2 separate regions of the Homo sapiens genome follow, and region 1 is linked to region 2. Evidence: promoter capture Hi-C in 16 types of primary human blood cells and fetal thymus (Javierre and others, 2016). All regions are on one chromosome and are shown on one strand. Each heading gives the region's core, a stretch centred on a gene start or on the middle of the fragment in contact. The rest is flanking DNA. Distances are from core to core; before and after follow the strand shown. Region 1 overlaps FDX1 (ferredoxin 1). Region 2 holds the start of ZC3H12C (zinc finger CCCH-type containing 12C).

Region 1 (3,139 bases), core at 1-2,500, 340 kb before region 2:
TGTAGTGACGGGGTGCCACCATGTTGCTCAAGCTGGTCTCAAATTCCTGGCCTCAAGCCATCTTCTCAACTTGGCCTCCTAAAACTCTGAGATTACAGGCCTGAGCCACCATGCCTAGCCGAAGGTATTTTCTTTTCTTTCCAAAGCTTATTTGGAAATCAAAGGCATATATATCTACCCACCTACCAGGTAATAAGCTCTACTACCTTACAGGAAATGGCAATGACTACCTGGTCAACGCCACCTGGTGGCCTCAGTATATGTCTCCCTAATAGTCACAGTTATAAAACATTTGGCAATTATTATCACTCATGAACTCTATTTTACTCTCATACAAGCCAGTGCAGTAGCTTGCACCTGTAACCCCAGTACTTCGAGAAGCTGAAGTGGGAAGATTGTTTGACGCCAGAAGTTTGAGACCAGCCTGGGCAACATGGCAAGATCCCATCTTTACAAAAAATAAAATAATTAGCCAGGTGTGGTGATGTGATCTGTAGTCCCAGCTAATTGGGAGGCTGAAACGGGAGGATCCCTTGAGCCCAGGAGGAGGAAGAGGCTGCAATGGGATATGATTGCACCACTGCACTCCAGCCTGGGCAACACAGCAAGACCCTGTCATTTAAAAAAGAAAAGGCCAAGTGTGGTGGCTCATACCTGTACTCCTAGCACTTTGGGAGGCCGAGGCAGGGGACTGCTTGAGCCCAGGAGTTTGAGACCAGCCTGAGCAACACAGAGAGACCCTATTGCTACAAAAAATAAAAATAAAAATGAGATGGTTGTAGGTGTATGAAAAATAAAAGGCATGGTGGTATTTGCCCATAGTACCAGCTACTCATGGGGCTGAGGTGGATCACCCGATCCCAGAAGTTCAGGGCTGCAGTGAGCCGTGATTACACCATTGCACTCTAACCTGGGCAACAGCTCAAGGCCCTGTCTCAAAAAAAAAAAAAAAAAAAAAAACAAAAAAAGTCATCACACAGCTCTCTGAAAAACATGAATGTGTCCATAAAAGACTAGACCAGGGTTGTAGTGAGCTTCTAAAAAGCAAATCATGGCCGAGCATGGTGACTCACGCCTGTAATTCCAACACTTTGGGAGGCCAAGGCGGGCGGATTACCTGAGGTCAGAAGTTCAAGACCAGCCTGGCCAACATGGCGAAACCCCGTCTCTACTAAAAATACAAAAATTAGGCATGGTGGTACATGCCTGTAATCCCAGCTACTCGGGAGGCTGAGGCAGGAGAATCGCTTGAACCCGGAAGGCAGAGGTTGCAGTGAGCCGAGATCAAACCACTGCACTCCAGCCCGGGTGGCAGAGTGAAACTCTGTCTCCAAAAAAAAAAAAAAAAAAATCAATAGGGCGATTGCTTTTCCAGTGCTACATAGAATACTACTGCTGAGAGATGTTGTTTAGTAGTTTTCTGCGTATTTGACATCTCATTTCAGTCCACATTGTATACTTACAAATCAAAGGGACTAGAAAAAGTTTATTTGTTTGAATCTGTAAGATAAATACCTCCTTACATGTTTTTTTAAGATAGTATGTTAACTATCAGCTAGCTGACTTAAATTTCCTTCACTTCTCACAAACATCCCTCCAAAATTTGAGAAGCCATTATACTAAAAACTAGATCCTTATTCCTCCACCATTGGTCATTTTAATTTTTACCTCACACTTGAAAAGATTCTCTTCAACTTAAAATAATGAGTTGTTATTCTTATTACTACCAGTAGATGGCAATAGCCCATCAAACAAATCTTTAAGTAAAACTCAGAATTAAATAATTTCAGAGCCATAACTATCTCGAAAGTTATCAAGTCCAGTGATCCCATTTCACAAATGAGGCAACTGAAGCCCCACTGGGATAATGCCCTCCCTAATATTATAACACTGGGAAAAAAAACAGGATTCTATTCATTAAAACTCATCAAAAGGGTGTGTGTGTGTGTACCAGAATGTTCCTCAAAAGGGCCTGCGCTCTCCAACTTCTTTTCACAGCCAAAACATGCTTTAAAACTAGTATTCCCACATATTATTCATAATTTTCAACATGAATAACTGCCATTTTTTTCAAAGTACAATGGCTGAGAATGAAAATACCCTAGAGGCAGGGAGGCCACTTTGGAGGTTATCAAAACAGCATAAACTAATCAGGGACAGAGAATGCAGTGACTTAACAGACATCCAGGAGGTAGACCAAAAGGTTTTAGTGACCATCTACATAAGATAAACTGAAAAGCGGAAAGAAAAACATTGGGATTTCCAGCTCACACAATTAGGTGGTACCATTTAACCTAGGTTTAAGACAGGAACCAAAGGAACTTTGGGGAAGACAGAAATAAGTTGAAGCTTAGACCTGCTGAATTTAATAATGAAAAAGCCAGATGAGAATGTCCAAACACCAGATGGCAATATGGGTATGGGTCTGAGCCCAGCAGAGAAGTCTAGAGATTTGACATCAACGAATGCCTGGTAGCTAAAGCTACAGGAAGCACATTAGAAAGAATTCCATCATTTATACACACTACTGAAAGCCAGAGGTTTCAGCGTTGCTGTTCTTCTGAAGCACTCTAGAGCTAAGCTTACAGCAAAGGAATTCGAAATCTCTTACATCAGCCTCCTCTTCTATAAAATTGGACAACATTAATCTTATAGTTCTGACAATGTATGCAAAATACGTAACACATAGTAGAATTCAACACACACTGATTAATAACTGTTATTTAAAGACCAAGCCCTTTTGCTAAGAAGCCCAACCTGTTGGTCTGTATTAAAGGTAAACAGCCCTACAAAAAACTGCCAAGTAAGAGTATTAACAGGTTTACCAAAGAAGAGGAGAGGAGGCGGAAACGAAAGAAAAATGTAATTCTTAAGTTGAAAGAGTATGGAACCTAAGAGTCAGAAGATGTAGACCCTATGCTGGGAGTGGTCACTCACGCCTGTAATCCCAATACTTTGGGAGGCTGAAGCAGGCAGATTACTTGAGGCCAGGGGTTCCAGACCAGGCTGGTCAACATAGTGAAATCTCATCTCTACTAAAACTACAAAACTTAGCCGAGTGTGGTGGCACGCGCCTGTAATCCCAGATATTCGGGTGGCTGAGGCACGAGAATCGCTTGAACCTGGGAGGTGTAGGCTG
Region 2 (7,552 bases), core at 4,827-7,326:
TAATTTAAAATATAAGTAGAAAAGTCAGCATTAAAATGAGATATTAATGCTCATCATCAAACTTTGAAATCAAGCACTTTCAAAGTTAATACTTAGTGGCTCAAACGTGGGATGAAATCAGTACTCTGACTCTATGTTAATGGTTATACATATCAATATAACTTTTCTGAAAAGCTTTTTGGCATTAAAAAACCTTCAAGTTTATTCTGTTTTATCACTATTTCTAGGACTCCATCCTAAGAACACAGATGCAGAAAAAGGAATTTCACTGGGCTAGTCAACTAAAGCATTATAATATTAAAATACTGGGAAAAAATACATGTCTAACTGAAATAGTAGAATGATTAAATAACACAACGTTAGAAATATTTTTAGATGTCATGAGAAAATCCTTAGTGTACGTTAAATGAGAGAGCGAATGTAGGATATCAAGTTCTACAAGTAATATAATTCCAATTATACAGGAAAAAGATGTATCCTTTTAGAACCAAACTCCTAAGAAAGATGACTTCATTATTTTGCTTAAACCTCACAATACTAGACAAATCTATTGACACGTATTAGGTTACACAGACTTTAATACAGTCATGTGTCACTTGACAAAGTTATGTTCTGAGAAATGCATCCTTAGGCTATTTCCTCTTTGTGCAAACATCACAGAGTATACTTACACAAACCTCTAGATGGCTATACAGCCTACTACACTCCTAGGCTATATGGTATAGCCTATGGCTCTGGGGCTACCAACCTGTACAGCATATTACTGTACTAAACACTGTAGGCAACTGTAACACAATAAGTCTTTGTGTATCTAAGCATAGAAAAGGTAGAGTAAAAATGCAGTCTATAAGATAAAAATGGTACACCTATATAGGGCACTTACCATGAATGAAGCTTGTAAGACTAGAAGTTGCTCTGGATAAGTCAGTGAGTGAGTGGTGAGTGAATGTGAAGGCCTAGGATATTAGTGTACATTACTGTAGATTTCATAAACACTCTACACTTAGGCTACCCTAAGTTTATCGAAAAATTTTTCTTTCTTCAATAAATTACTCTTACTGTAACTTTTTTACTTTATAAACTTTTTCATTTTTTAACTTTTGGACTGTTTTATAATAACACTTGGCTTAAGACAGAAACACATTGTACAGCTATACAAAAATATCTTCTTTCTTTATATCCTTATTCTATAAGCTTTTGTCTATCTAGAAAATTTTTTACTTTTTAAACTTCATTTAAAATGAAGACACAAACACATACATTAGCCTAGGTCTACACAGGGTCAGGATCACCAAGATCACTGCTTTTCACCTCTACATTTTGTCCCACTGGAAGGTCTTCAGGGGCGGTAACAGGCACGGCACTGTCACCTCCTATGATAATGCCGCCTTCTGAAATACCTCCTGATAGACCTGCCTGAAGCTGTTTTACAGTTAACTTTTTTTTGTATAAGTAGAAGGAGTACACTCTAAAATAACAATAAAAAGTATAGTATAGTAAATAAATAACCCAGTAACATAATCGTTCATTATCCTTCTACCATCAGCAGCACTGTAGGTTTGTTTACACCAGCACCACCACAAACATATGAGTAATGCCTTGTGCTATGACATCAGGAGATGGCTATGACATCACTAGGCGACAGGAACTTTTCAGCTCTATTATAATCTTATGCACCACTGTCATATATGCAGTCTGTTTTTAACTAAAACATGATTATGCAGTGCATGACTGTATTTGTTTTAACAGGGACTTAGCCTGGCTAAATTAATTGGAACCCTCATTCTGCTATTATTAATTGTGGGAACTCGGGTAAGTTATTTGACCACATTGTGGTTCGGTATTCTCATCTGAAAAAAGAGGTACTGAAATACCTCTTCATAAGCAGGTAGTAAGCATTAAATGCATTAATACATGTACAGCACTTAGAACAATACTTGGCACAATAAATGTTTCATAGCGTTCTCAAACTTAAACCACAATGCAGTAAACCAAGTGATATCTAAGCTGAGGGCTGAATAAGGTGTGACCCAGGCAAAAGGTGAGGGAAGATAGTTTAAAATGTTCCAGGTAAGCAGGAAGACCATGGGATTTTCTACTTATTCCATATCCACCCTAAGATATGTGATACTTATCTTAAAGGCAGAATGCTTTGAATGTTCAGGTATCTGCTTATGAGCTCTGCTTCAGGCTACATTACTGGGCATAAGAATTATTGTCAGTGTTGTAATGTAAAACCGTGTACATTATACTTTAGGTGCAATTAGTTTCCATTTTTCCTTAAGAAAGTAAAACAATCCTCTGATGATGCTAAGAATAATTAAACAGAGAGAAATTTGCCATAATGTTAAATGAGTTCTCTCTGGATTATGGGATTACAGGTGTTTTAAAAATTCTTTATACCTCTCTATATTTTCTAATTTATTCCACAGTAAGCACATTACATTTCTATAGTCTGAGAAAAGTTATAAAAATCAATAAAAAATATTATTCATTAAGAATGTTTGTTGCTTTCACTGAAAAGTGCTCCTTTTTGTGAACTACACTGCTGTTACATCATTTGCCATGCTGGACTGAAACTGGAGTCTTTTGATTTGTCTCTGTAGTGAACTCAAGCAGCCTGGCAAAAAGACACGGTCCTTGCCTTCAACTTACCTGGCCAGACAGGATTTCTGTATTGTCCTACTACTGTCGTACTATGCAGAGGAAAGGCTTCTCGTCTTACATACTCACTATGCATCACTTAATTTTCAAATGGTGTATGTCAACAAAACAACATACATGATGACACACTTTTTAGAGAACAAACTAAAAACAGAATCCTATCGAGGCAGAACTTGCACAGTGGTTAAGATCATGGGTTATAAAGTCAGACTGCCTGGGTCTGAACTCCTTTCTGCAACTTACTAGCTATATGACTTTGGGCAAGTTACTCAAACTCAGTGTCTCTGCTTCCGCATCTATAGACTGGGGATAATAGAAGCAATGCATAAAGGTGTTCAAGGGTTAAATGAGATAATGCATGTAGACTTAGCATGTTGTCTGGCACATCAGTGTACAAACGTGACTATTACTATGTCACCTATAAAAACCAAAACAACAGTAGAGAATTGATGCCGCCACAACACATATCTGCAGTTATCTTTATACTATCAGATGCCAAAAATTACTATGTGTCAGATATTTAATTTACACACTAATCCTACAAAAATTTTAAACAAATCTTGAATCACCAAGAAATTAGAGATCTATTCTGGGGTGAAATAGATCTTTCTTAAAAAATCACATTCTTGATTGATCATCCTTTCTCTGAACTATTAATTGCAAAACAGCAGCAGAGATTATAACATGTGTTTTGTTGAATCTTCACACATTTTCACTTTGTAAAGTCATGAGATTTCATATGCTGCAGGTCCATGAGGCATATTAGCACTTAAAACACAAGAAGCTTTTTTAGAACATTTGGTAGATTTACGATCAAACTCCGGAATCTCAATATTTTAGGCTTAAATTTGGAATCCTGATTGAATTAATTTTCATTATTCACTGACCATCTTATTTACTTAATATTGCTCTAATAAAAACTATACTCCAAAACTCTATTTGCCAACTTACCCACTCACTACTCCTATCATCTGCCCCATGCGCCACATACTGGACCGCCCACTCCCTGCTTTCCTTCCAGGGTTCACTGACTCATTTGGAAATGACTCCCAACCAGCTCTACCTACTCAAATCCTACCTTTGAGGCACTCCCCAGTACCTGAATTTCTCACTTCTTTTTTCACGGAACTTAGTACTTTCCACATAGCATTATGTTCGTTCATAATCTATCCTTTTAGAGGTCGGGGGCCTTACACAGCAGCTAGAGTGATAATAAGTAATTATTTGCAGAGAGAACAGAAGCATACCAGTTTCAAATGAGCAATAACTGCAGATTAGTGTTATTCTACGTTCCAACAGTAAAAAGATAAAAACATTCCCTACTTAATACCTTGTTTGTTTCTTTAAAAATGCTATCAAATCAGAATTAAAGAATTCTAAATTTATGTACAAAAACAATGAAACACACTAAGAAGTTATAACAGCAACATTTTTACGTCTGTGATAGTAATTAAAATTAATGTAGCAACCACTGTGGTCTGCTAGAATGAAGACCTAGTTGTAGAATGAGAAAAATGTTTTAAACATAAAATTTCTATTAACAACTTGGGATCCGATTTTGCAGACGTTGGTAACCCATGAAAACCTAGCTCCAGAGAAGCCCATAATATAAAATAGGGTATTTTTATATAGTCTGGTCATTAAAACAAAAATTTAGTAAAAGGAAGTGACTAATAAAAACTCTCATCAGTATAGAAACATTCCAAGTTTCTGTTTCCTATCCTTTAATATTTCCCATTATACTAAAATAGTTCCGTTAGACTTCCCTTATTAAATAAAGGCTAAAAAATGCCAGTCACTTTGTTGTTGTTTATTTAAAAGTTCATTTTACTTTGGTTATAATGTTTAAGTACTTTTATGGTGACCAAATACTAGAAGTAGAATCTTGTAACTTACTTTGAAAGTAAGATAGACTCTTTCATGTAAAAATATTAAAACATTTTGAACTATGGGTACATAGTCAACAGGCCATTCTATTTTTATGGTACCATCCAGTAGACAGATTTAGGTAACTGGAAATAAGCATGCCAAATTGTTGAAGAAAACAGGTGAACAGGGGGTCAAGTCCGAAATAGGCATCTTCCTGGGCTTATCACACTAAGATTAATTTTACCAATGTTTGATGAAGCTATCATGTAGTCAAACACAGAGAACCCTAAACTTAAGAAACTGCTACTAAAATTAATTGTACATGTGATTAAATGAATGGAAGTCATACCCTCTAAATCCTAAGTCCATTAAGACAAAAACATTTATAACACACTGTATTTATGACTTCTTGTGGTTCTTGAAAAGTCAAAAATTGTGTTTGAGGTTTATCTCGTTTTCCGTTTATAATATGCATTTTAAAAGTGGAAAAACTCAAGCACGTAACAAGTGAAAAACTGAACAACGTTGCCAAATTCCTAAACATACAATACTTAGCTCCAATTATCTCTGCATCTATTCTAAAATGGTTTAAAAAAAGTCTGAATCAATAAGCGCCTGATGGGCCTGGGATACTCCAATACAGTCTTGTCAACCAATAGGAAAACTTTTCCTAAATCTGGATTCGTCTTTCATCTCTTTATCACAAAACACCGAACACAAACCGAGATTGTTAACGGATAACCAAATGGCAAGAACCCCAGACAGAGTAATCAGTACTTGGATGTTAGGGCTGTTTTTAAGGACTTGAAATGAGACAGCTTAGGGAAGAAATGCGGGATTCATTTCTCCAAGTTATATTTGTAACACTTCTTAATACGGAGTTAAAAATGTGAACAGCCGAGCTAAAATGAACGCAGCGTGTAAAAGGGATCTGGACTGGAGCCTGGGGGTGAAGGAGGGACGAGGGGGGAGTGAGGGGCTTTCGTGACGCTCGGCCTGGGGTTGCTGGCGATCTGGATGGAGGGATGGATAGTTAAGCGAATGGCCAGGGCTGGATCCGAGATGCCAAGAGATGTCTCGCCCCACGAGCGCGCGCGAGTCTGAGCCGCTGGGGCAGCGCAGTGTGTCCGTTTCCATCCGCGGCGCCCGAGCCCGCCTCCATGTTCGCGATCTATGCCCCCGGGCGGGCGGGGACCGGTGCCTTAGGCCGCGGGGCCGGGAAGCCCGGCCTCACCTCGCCCGAAATCCCGGCGGGGACGGCGTTGCCCGAGGGGAGGATGCGCTGGGCTTTCCGCTCGGCCCCACCTGAGCGACCGGAGCTCGGTGACTCGACCTCCGGAGCCCGACCCGCCTGGGCCTGGAGATCACACGGCGAGGTCGCTGCGGCCCCGGCGCCCTCCGCCTGGCGCCCGGGCGCGGCCCCGCGGCCCTCCCCACGACCGGCTACCCCAGGACCACTCTCGCCGCGGTCCGCGTCCCCCACCCCCTTCCCGAGGACAAACCTGGGAGCCGCCACCCGGCATAGCCAGCCCCGCGAGAAAGCGGCGAGCGGGCGGCGGGGCCCGCGGAGAAGCGGCCACCGCGGCCCTCCCGCGCCAAGCCGCGCCCGCCCGCGCGCCCTCTCCGCGGGCCGCAGCCCCGGCGCCCCCTCCCTGGGTTGCACAACTCACAGCCCCAACGCGCGCGCACTCGAATCTGTTGCTCAACCTACTTGCATTCTCTTCTCCGCAGCCATCACTACATGCCCTGGAGCTGGGGCAGCCCCGGGGCCCTCCGGCAGGCGGCCGCCTCTCGCCTCAGCCCTGGGCTGCCGCGGCCGCCGCTAGGGCGCGGGGCGAGCGCGAGGCTCCCTCATGCCTCCCGCCCGGACAGCTGGCCGCACGCCAGGGCCCCGGCTCGGGCGCGCCCGAGCGCTGGGCTCGGCTCGGCCCTGCCCTTCGTCCGTGCCGCTGCTCCGCGGGCGAGAGCGAACCCGGCTCCGCCACCTCGCTCCGCGCTCCTCGCCCGCCCGCCCGCCCGCAGCCACCGCAGCCGCGCCGCTTCCTCCTCCCCTTCCCTCTTTTCCTTCTCCTCCGTCGCCGCCTCTGGAGCCGAGGTTGGCAAACCAGCACCTGCTGCTGGAGAACGCCGAGAACTGAAACAGGAAACCCTGAGCCAAGGGGAAAACCCGAGAGGCGTGGAGAGGGGTGAGGGGAGCTGCTGGAACCTGTCGGGCTCGACCCAGCCGCTGGGGCTGCCCGAGGTTCCCGCGCCGCCTCCCCTCGCGCCTATTCCCTGCCCCGGCCCAACCCAGCGGTCCCGACCTCCCCGCGCCTCTCCCCCGACCTGGTGCAGGACGGCGCCTTTCCGCTCGGCGACACCTTCTCCACCCAGCAGTAACACTGATCATGTCCCGGGCAGTCAAGGAGATCGACGGGCCGCCTTCTTAGGGCAGGTTCCCCGTAGTTGTTTACTTATCAATATTCCGTGATGAGGAAAAACCACACCCTGCATTAGCAAGGCCAATAAAAGAATTTAAACAAATGAAGCTGTTGGGATTTCACCCAGGGATAGGACTTCTTTCAGCAAGGAAATTGGCTTTGATGGAAATGGCAATCGTGTCAAAATCGAGGTTGAACCCAAGATACATCCAGATCTCTTTCAGGAGATCGGAAGGAAACAGCCCTTTGCACAGAGGTGGGCGCCTGAATCGCAGGCTGAAAAGCACCGGGAGCAGAGAGCCTTTCTACTTCTGTGAATCGTACAACACCCAGCACAAACTAAGTCAATGTTTCAGAAATGTTCAAATAACCTTATTCGCCTGTCCTTGGAATCATTACGAGCAGCCTAGGGCAGGATGAGTCTGCTTCTGGAGTGAGAGGGAGGGACACTGAATGGGTTGTGCCCCTACCATATGCCACGGGCCAAATAGCCTGCTTTAAATCCACTGTCCCGTTTGTCACCACAGCCATGTGAGCTGGGTATTAGAAACCCCTTTATCCATCAGAAAATCGAGGTTAGAAAATTTACCTGCAGTTAC

Evidence for each region. The method cuts DNA at HindIII sites, captures the fragments that hold promoters and counts their contacts. A CHiCAGO score of 5 or more calls a contact.
Region 1: a fragment that was not itself captured here is called in contact with the fragment with the promoter of ZC3H12C in region 2 in 2 of 17 cell types (M0 macrophages and endothelial precursors); the score reaches 5.9 in M0 macrophages.

The regions. Positions count from the first base shown.
Region 1 is chr11:110,432,547-110,435,685 of GRCh38, reverse strand. The region is part of intron 1 of FDX1 (ferredoxin 1); the gene reads right to left. Among named protein-coding and RNA genes, the nearest start is that of FDX1, 4.2 kb to the right of the region's middle. The HindIII fragment of the contact is 2,203 bases long and covers 149-2,351 here.
Region 2 is chr11:110,091,916-110,099,467 of GRCh38, reverse strand. It overlaps ZC3H12C (zinc finger CCCH-type containing 12C), which reads right to left and starts at 6,076. Exons shown (of 6, transcript NM_033390.2): 1 at 6,036-6,076. The coding sequence starts at 6,056. RefSeq lists silencers at 5,717-6,186, 6,247-6,506, 6,807-6,866. The HindIII fragment of the contact is 5,266 bases long and covers 3,451-7,552 here.